3 separate regions of the Homo sapiens genome follow, and all the other regions are linked to region 2. The links are contacts of gene promoters, found by promoter capture Hi-C in blood cells and fetal thymus (Javierre and others, 2016). All regions are on one chromosome and are shown on one strand. Each heading gives the region's core, a stretch centred on a gene start or on the middle of the fragment in contact. The rest is flanking DNA. Distances are from core to core; before and after follow the strand shown. Region 1 has its middle 69 kb from the start of LINC00578. Region 2 holds the start of FNDC3B (fibronectin type III domain containing 3B). Region 3 holds the start of TBL1XR1 (TBL1X/Y related 1).

Evidence for each region. The method cuts DNA at HindIII sites, captures the fragments that hold promoters and counts their contacts. A CHiCAGO score of 5 or more calls a contact.
Region 1: a contact is called between a fragment that was not itself captured here and the fragment with the promoter of FNDC3B in region 2, in 1 of 17 cell types (total B cells). The highest score is 5.2, in total B cells.
Region 3: a contact is called between the fragment with the promoter of TBL1XR1 here and the fragment with the promoter of FNDC3B in region 2, in 2 of 17 cell types (total B cells and naive B cells). The highest score is 11.7, in total B cells.

Annotation. Positions count from the first base shown.
Region 1 is chr3:177,371,093-177,374,055 of GRCh38, reverse strand. No RefSeq gene overlaps it. Among named protein-coding and RNA genes, the nearest start is that of LINC00578, 69 kb to the left of the region's middle. The HindIII fragment of the contact is 552 bases long and covers 1,358-1,909 here.
Region 2 is chr3:172,038,180-172,041,041 of GRCh38, reverse strand. FNDC3B (fibronectin type III domain containing 3B) reads right to left here and starts at 1,464. Exons shown (of 26, transcript NM_022763.4): 1 at 1,271-1,464. RefSeq lists silencers at 112-481, 542-791, 972-1,071, 1,212-1,391 and enhancers at 310-976, 977-1,644. The HindIII fragment of the contact is 7,479 bases long and covers 1-2,862 here.
Region 3 is chr3:177,196,128-177,199,039 of GRCh38, reverse strand. TBL1XR1 (TBL1X/Y related 1) reads left to right here and starts at 1,558. Exons shown (of 16, transcript NM_024665.7): 1 at 1,558-1,919. RefSeq lists silencers at 967-1,346, 1,587-1,776, 1,887-1,986, 2,467-2,516 and enhancers at 964-1,471, 1,472-1,981. The HindIII fragment of the contact is 6,955 bases long and covers 1-2,912 here.

The sequences.
Region 1 (2,963 bases), core at 384-2,883, 5.3 Mb before region 2:
GCCTTAACTTGGTACAATTAGATATTGCAGATTGCATATCTAAAAGCCAGTTAAGTAGCAGACTTCCCTGACAGACAAAACTAGGAAAAGCTTCAGTCGAACCTAGTGGACATCGGATCACCCCAAATGGAGGCCATTTACCCAGCAACTATGAAAAGAAGCCTGCCAGAACATTTTAGTTCTACACGACACTCTACTAATACCCAGGCCATCTTCTCCAGGCATTAAGTGCCTTCAACAAGCCAAGAAGGCAACTCCCATAATCAAGTAGAAAGGTGATGCAAACTAAGTATTTTGTGTCCCTCCAAAATTCATATGTTGAGGCCTAAATCTCCAATGTGATGATATTTTAAAGGTGGGGCCTTAGGTAGGTAATTAGATTATGAATGGGATTGGTGACTTTATAAGAGACATTAGAGAAATGATCTCTTTCTCCACCAAGTGAGGGTACAATGAAAACACTGTCGTCTGTAAACCAGGAAGACGACCTTTGCCAAGACCCTTACTATGCTGGTGCCATGATCTTAGATTTCCAGCTCCAGAACTGTGAGAAAAGTTTCTGTTATTTAACACACCCAGTCTATGGCAATTTGTTATAGCAGCTGGAACTGACTAAGACTGAGGGCAATCCTCAAAATTCATCAGGGTAATACATTTGCTTCATAATAGATAAGCATCTTTTTAAAAAAATTTTTTTGACATTTTTATAGAGACACGGTCTCACTGTGTTGACCAGGCTGGTCTCAAACTCCTGGCCTCAAGCAATCCTCCCATCTCGGCCTCCCAAAGTGCTGGGATTACAGGCATGTGCTATCATGACCAGCCAGATAAGCATCCTTTAATTCCCATAAATTTTGGAAATTGAGTTGATAAATGCTTAATAAAAAAAAAAACCTGTAATCTTTATAATTTTGTTATTAAGGGATATGTGAATATTTGGAATTTAAAAAGTCACATGAGACTTTGGCCTCTTCATGTAACAGTTCAGCCCTGTAATTCCACCTTAAAATATATGATTGAGTTATTGATTTAGAGTTTAGATTTACACAATTTTAATGATATAATATTGGAAGATTTAAGAGATTTTAGTGTTCCCATAGCTGAATTTGATTTGTTAGATTTACAACAGTTATTTAAATACTTAGAAAAGGTCTGTTAGCTAAAGCAAGCAACTAAAGTCTATAAAAGGAAAATCAAGCACATTTAAATCATAAATGAAATTTAAAGTGTTCCAGGCTGTTTATTTAAGTTTGTGAAAAGGACCAAATATTAGTCAAAGGCTGCTTTAAAAATGATTGTTAAAATTTGCTCGATTTATAAACAGAAAAATAAGATTTATAAACTGAACTTAAAAGCTTAAAAAGAACTACATGTGTGGATTTGTAACATTAATTAATTGATTATTAATTTTTAAAGCGAAAAAACTCAGTAATCTTTTCTGCACACAAAAACTGCCTTGAAGGATAATTTTTAAGCCATATTTAACAACCTTCTTGGGAACTCAGTGAGTGAATGAGGAAAAAGAATTACGCTCACGAAGAAAAGGTAGATAAAATATATTTTTAAAAATATGGCCCAGAGTTAAAACTAAATAGTATGCTTTCACTTACCCTCTCCTACCTTCCAGTAAATGCAGGAGAAATGCTACAAGATAATGTGGATGAAGCAAAAGATCAGAATTATTCAACAATTTTTATTATTGAGTACCTACTCTATGTTTTACACTATGGGAAAATGCAAGAATATGTGGCATTTATAATCTAGTGAGGCAGGTAAGACTCACAAATCTGAAACAGAGAACAGAATGATTCAGTTCAATAAACACTTATTGAGAGCCAGCCTTGCAACAGATATAGTGACTGGCTCCAGGGAGGGGGAGGCGGCTGGGCTCAAAAACAAACAATAAGCTTTATAATTAAGTGCTAAATTGCGTGTTGCAGAAGTCAAGTGAGAAGCATTCAAAGAGAGATAACAAAGTCTATTGGAACAGCTGAGATTTATGGATGAGGTAAGAATTGATCTGGGCTTTGAAGGATGGAAAGGACTTCAATAGGCAAAGGGGGTGGGGCTGGAAGAGAGGGGCACTATGAATCTAGTGTGCAAGGGAAGCAACAAAAGAAACCAGCAGAAATGCTACACATTGAATGACAGTGGAATTAGATCATGGAGCAATTTCTAAATTACACAAAACTAAAATTAAAGCTAGTTACTAGACTAAGCTACTAAACAATAATAAAAGCAATAATAATTACTACCAAACATTGAGAGGAGGTGGCATAAAATAAGATAAATCCTCATATGCCATAGCAATGAGTCAATAGGTACTATTTAAATTTGATTAATCATAAAAAAATTATGAGCATATATTACTAAACCTTTTGTGATAAACACCAAAGGAAAGATAAAGCTAAAATAGGTTGTCTCTGGGGCTGGAACTAAGGATGAGGAGGGTGGGGGACCAGAGAATCTTGTTATAAACTTTTCTGCACAATTTGAGTTGATACCACATGATTGTATCACTTTGATCCAAATATGAATATTCAAAACAAATAAACTCAGTTATTAGGCCATGTTTGTTTGACCCAGAGGTAGATTTACTACTAAGCTAATAAAGCCTAAGCCCTGATTCCTTCCAAGACCTACATCTAATTTTGTATGTATGTACTTTCTAATTTTTTTTTTAAAAAGGCCTTCCCACAGTCATATAAGCACCAGGCCCTGGATGACCCTGGTTTGAACTACAGTCTTTTTCATTTCTCACAGTTCTTTAATGCCTTTCTTCCTTGACATTTCCTAGAAAGAACCTAGTCTCTCTACTTTTTATGTTACTTTTAATCAAGGCATATGGTCTTAGTTATGCTAATAAATAATCTTGCTTCAAAATAAAATCTCTACTTGATTCAGTAAACAATATCGAGGCACGTAGTTTTGTTGTTGTTGTTGTCCATGAAAAGAGTATATTC
Region 2 (2,862 bases), core at 215-2,714:
TATAACTTTTAAGGAAGTCTGCAAACGGCACTGTCTGGATAAAATGCCATTGCTTCCCTTCGTCTGGGATGGCAGGGTGGGAGCTGAGATTCCAAAAGCTCCAACTCCGACCGCGCACTCCTGGAAGCCTCCCCGCCAAAGGCGCCGCCGGGCGGCGCAGCCCAGTCTCCCGAGACGGCGGGCCCGGGTCCTCCGGTTCCCACGGGACGCCGGGACCCGGACCTCTGGGAAAGTTCGCGGGCACAGCCCGAGGCCCCACTTTCTGCCGAGAGTGACAGGCCCTTCCCACGCCTGCCGGCCCCAGCCCAGCCGCGGGCACCAGACGGTCCGCGCGGCCCCTCCTGGCCGCCTCGGGGCGCAGATTCCGCCCGCCCGCCCTATCCCCGGCCGAGGCGCCCCTCGGGGTGACCGACTGACCGGAGCTCCGCTGGCCCACACACCGGGTCGCCCGCTCCTTCCCGCCGCGCCCCGCTCCCCCGCCCGAGCTTCCAGCCGCCGGCTCGCCAAGTCCGGCCGCGGCCGCCGGTTACCGCCCCCAGCCCGGGGGGAGCCCGGGGGGCAGGACGGGGAGGAGGACGTGGCGTGCTCGGAGGTGGCCAGCAGCGGGGCGGGGAGTGTCCCGGAGAGGCCCAGCCGGGGACGGGGGGGCCAGGCCGGCGCGGGCTCGGGACCCTCCCCGCGAGCATCCCCGGGTTCGAGGCCCCCGACCGCCCCCGCCGGCGCGGAGAGGCGGCCCCAACTTCCAGCCCCACTTCGCACTCCCGCCCTCTTCCCTCCACCATATGGAAATCTACAGCCTCAGAAAGTGACACGTCGAAGATTCCTCGGCCTCGCCGCCCGCCCTCCCCCTCCTGGGCAGCGTTCCTGCCGCGGAGATTCCGGGAGGGGGAGCGGATTCCTCGGACAAAATCTGCTGGGAAGGCTGGGGGTGGGGGGAGGCCGCGAGCCACTGCCCAATTTTTTTTAAGAGGAATCTACCCGTTTCTTTCACTCCTCCAAACCCTGAGGCAGGGGGCACAGGCGGGGGACCCCAGCCCAGCAAGGCGGGGGCCGCCCCCTCCCGGGTCCCGTGTTCCCGGGGTGCCCAGGCGAGCACGGGGCGCCCCAGCACTCCGGCGCCAAGTTTTTGCCGGGAAGCCCAGGGCGCTCCCGGGACAGGGACGCACTTTGGCGGACTCGGCGTCAGGCCGGGGCTTTCCAGTGCACCGGGACCCGGCGATCGCGCTCGGGGTCCCGGTCTCCTCTAGTCCCCGGCTCTTGCACGCCTTACCTTCCCTAGGGCTGAAACGCGGGGCTCTGGGCGCGCCACACACCGGGTCGCCCACGCCTTCCCAGCCGGCAGCCTGGAGGATCCCTGCCGCCCCCTTCGCTGCTCCCGCCGCCGCCGCTCTCCTCCTCCAGCCGCCGCCGCCGCCGCTCAAATAACTACCAGGAGGGTTTGATGGGGGATTCCGCCATGTCAATGATGTCGGGACCACATGGGGATTTGGGGCCCGCCCATTACCGTAAACCGCCGAATATACCGGCCGCCACAATCGCAGACTCGCAGAAGCTGTTGTCCCCCGGCCCTGCCTAGCTAAGCAGAAACTCCTTTTGGTTCAGCCAGACTAAAGAAACCTGAGGCTTAGGGAACTAACAACTCCTGAATGGCGAGGGCTGCGCGTTCTGCAGATCGCCAAAGTAATATAAAGGCAATGTTTACTCAGTGATAATTAAGCCTAAAACTGACTTTTTTTCATTTACACATATATTTCGCTTTTTGTTGTTGTTAACCCCCACAGCAACCTTGTGAGCTATATTACTCCCACATTTCCCACAGCATTTTATTCATACAACTAACATAGTATGAGCAATTTTTATTATACTTAAGTTAAAATCTCTCTTTCCTCTTTCTTTTTGTTTTTTGTTTTTTGTTGTTGTTGTTGTTTGTTTTGGGGACTGCAGGCACGGGGCAGGCATGAGCCACCGCACCCTTTTTTTTTTTTTTTTTTTTTCCTTTTTTGGAAGAGAGGGGGTCTCAATAGGTTGCCCAGGCTGGTCTGGAACTCTGTCGCTCAAGTGATTCTCCCGCCTTGGCCTCCCAAAGTGTTGAGATTACAGGCGTGAGCCAACTCACCCAGCCTTATTTCACAATGCGTTTCTCAGGGACAAAGACTGTTTCTTACTTTTATCTTTATATCCGTAAAATATAGCACAGTGCAAGGACCACAATAGGACTCATTAAATAACTGTTGAGTTCATATTAAGTCAAATGTAATGTATTTCTGTTGTACAGGCTCTAAGAGGTTAACAGACTGCATCCCATGCCACCCCTCAGATTATTCAGGAGACAAGAGAGCAAAAGTTAGCCTAGAGAAGCCCCTTCCATCCATAGCTGTCCAGGTATTCTGAATAGCTACATTCAGCCTCAACTATTAAGCTACAAAGGAGCATTCAGGGAGTCACTAGAGACAATGTATTACTTTTGTTAACCTAAAAAATAATAATAGCAGTACATAATACTCTGTTAAAGTCTAAAGAACACTAAGAAATAGCTCCTTCCTTCCCTTGTTCATTTGCCATTCTTTTGGGGAGATTTTAGCCTTTTTTTTTTTTTTTTGGAGGCAATGGTGAGTCCAGAGAAATGGGGACCTCTCTCCTAAATGGCTTATTTACTGTGGAGCTCCTCAAAGGGGAACTTGAAGCCATCTTTCTATAACATAACTCCAATTCTAGGTCATAGTCCTGCATGAGAAGCCGGGGCGGGGGGTAGGCAGTAGTTCCTTAGTGCCAATAGGGTACAATCCAATAGATCCCATTTGAGTCCAAATGCCTTCTCTGGCTCCAGACTCTTTGGCTTCCTCAGGTGCCATGCCTTCAGCC
Region 3 (2,912 bases), core at 309-2,808, 5.2 Mb before region 2:
AAAGGCCTCTGGCAGCTCCCCCAAGCAAGGGCTCAGGGGGGAAAGAGACATTGACCTTGGCCAAGAAAGCACCTGTCTAATTACTGAACTTATTAGGCCACCAGGAGTCCAGACTGGTGCAAGTTACGAGTAGTGTGTGTGTGTGTGTGTGTGTGTGTGTGTGTGTGTGTGTGTCGCAAAACTTCAGGTTTCTGATATTGAGAGGAAATGATGGTTGCTTTAAAGTGATCACTACATCTATTTTCAAATATTCTGATGAAAGTAGGAAAACAGAACCCTTCACCTTTAAGAAAGCTGCAAACATTATTTTGCTTTGAAGGCAGTAATAAGCGAAATAACAAAAAGGTTTCAAGTCGTATCTTAATGTAAAAGGGTGGCTGCTTCTCCAGTCCTGAGCTTATACAAAGCTCTAAAAAGCACCCTACCCCATCTTTCTGAAAGTCTTAGAAAGATTACCACCCCATTTGCTTTAAAACCTGTGAGGTGCCTCCCTTCTTTAAAAACAACCCTCCCTCAACCATACTGCCACATTATCACTCATCTAAGTTATACTTTATAAACCGCCTTGCTGTGCTTCACACATGCAAAAAGTACACAAAGTGGATAAACTTCTACTGTGGATGCCACTGTGCAGGTATATATTTAGTAAACATTTAGTTACATTATTTTATTTTTGTGAAATAAGAACTGATCGAGCAAACCTTTCAAACAGACCCACCAGATGATAAATACCACCATATGCTTGATTCACAGTACATTTGGGCATAAATACTTCAATTACAGCTTTGTGTTTAGTATCAAAAACCTTTTCTTGTGTGCGTGTTTTCTCTCCAGATCCCGTGCTCTGGATCACATTTTGAAAGTCGCTTATTACAGATAAAGCACCTTTCCAGGTACGCTTCGGAGAACCATATGTATTTACGCACACAAAGGTGTTCACAGAGATTTTCACAAACAAATGTCCATATGATGCCGCGCCGCACTCCCCCACATGCCCGCCGCGTGTGCGCCCAGCCCCCAACGCCGCCGGGCCGCCCCCCGGACACGCGGGAGCCCGCGGCGTCCTTGGGGAAACTTCGCCGGCGGCTCCACCCCGGCCACCGCGCGGGCCTCCCCGCCCCCACCCGTCTCGGGCCCAGCGGCCCACACCCGAGCACACCCAGGCCGGCCCGCGGCGGTGGGGGCGGGGCGGGCGGCCCGGGGCCCCGAGGCGCCTTCGAGTGCCCGCGGGGCTCGCCTGATTTTTAAAAGAATGCGCCGCACAGCCCAGCCCCCAGTGCCGCCAGAGCGGGCCGGGAAGGAGAGGAGCGCGGCCGCTGGAGCCCCCCCGCCGCGCCGCCGCCGCCTCCCGGCGTCCGCGGCGCCCCTCCCCCGCCGGCCCCTCCCCCGCGCGCCCGCCCGCCCGCTCGCCCGCCCGCCCGGCGCAGGCCGCTCGGGTTTGTTTTGCTGCGCGGCCGCCGCCGCCGCCGCCGCCGCGGGCCTCGCGAGCTCATTTGTGCCTGGCTGGTCCCCATTCCTCTCTCCCCAGTGTTGAGTGTCTGAGCCGTTGGCTGCTCCGAACCGTTTGGCTCTTTCCCTTAGTAACAGCTTTTACCTTCTGCCTCAATTCCTCTCCCCGCTCGCGCCCTTCCCCCGCGCGCCGCCTCCCCCCGCCGCCGGCCGCGTGCGCCCCCGCCCCTCCCCCCGCGGCGGGAGCACCTCCGCTCGCCACCTGGGGACCCGCGCCGCGCTCCCCGCCCCCGCCCGCCCGGCGCCCATCCCCCGCGCCCTCCGCTCGCTGGGGTTATAATTGCCTCTCACCCCCCGGAGGGGTTATTTTGGGGGTGGTTGGAGGCGGTGGCGGCGGCGGCGAGGAGGGGAATTTCCTTGTGCCTCCATTCCCGGGAGGGGGGAGCGGCGTTGGAGGCCACCGTTTCCAGGTAAGCGCTGGGGGCCGGACCCTGGAGTGGGGGCGGCCGGGGGCCTGGGCGGGGGGCGCGGGCCAGAGGCGGCCGGGGGCGCTGGGCCGCGGGGGGATGGGCGCGAGTGGAACATGCATTTTTCAACTTGGCCCTTGGGGGAACTGGGCTTGCGTGGGGGAAGGGAAGGCAGGGAGGGCACTTGGGGCGCCCCCATCCCCCCGTTTTCCTCTCTCAGGTTTCTTTGAAATGCTCACGTGCCTGCCCACCCCCCTACCCTTTCCCGGTCTCGGGGGATCCTCACCCTAATTATGTTGTCCCCGAAAATGTGCACCTCGGCCTTCTCCCCCTCTTCCTCCCTTCGTGCATTTACACCCCCTTTTTGTGCGTGTGTGTTTGGGGGGGGAGGCTTTCAGGAAAGGATTTGCAGCAAATTGAATCAAGGAGCCATCATGAGGCCGACTCCTTTATAGCCTATTTTTAGCAGAGGAGAAGGAGCTTTTCGGTGCATGCTATTTTGTGAAACCTCGGGCGGCAATGGAAATCTCCCCTCCCCGGGCGCGTCCCCGGCCCGGGCGCGGCGACCCCGGCCGGCGTGCTGGGGGCTGCGGGCGGCTGTTGGGGCCGCGCGTCCGGGGCGGGGGCGCCGGCCGGGGGAGGGGCGCGCGGCAGCCGGGCCTTGCTCCGGGACGTGTTTATTTGTAACTTAGTGCTTTTTATCGTCTTAAGGAGGTATTTGGTGGAGGCTCTTTGAAGTTGGGTTCAGGAGTGTAGAATTGGCAAAGTTATTGCCAGCTTCCTGGTAAGTTTTGGGTGGCACAGAGTCACGTTATTTTCTGACAGTGTAAAGGCCACGTTGTGAGGGTGGTTTCTCGGTAACTTCCTCTTTGCAACCGATTTAATTTTTTGAACAGAAGCAGACTTTTATTTAAGTGGAATATTAATCTTAAATGGCAGCTCGAGGGAAGCCATGCATGTGTTAACGTGTTCAGTATTTTTGGAAGTTCTTAATTT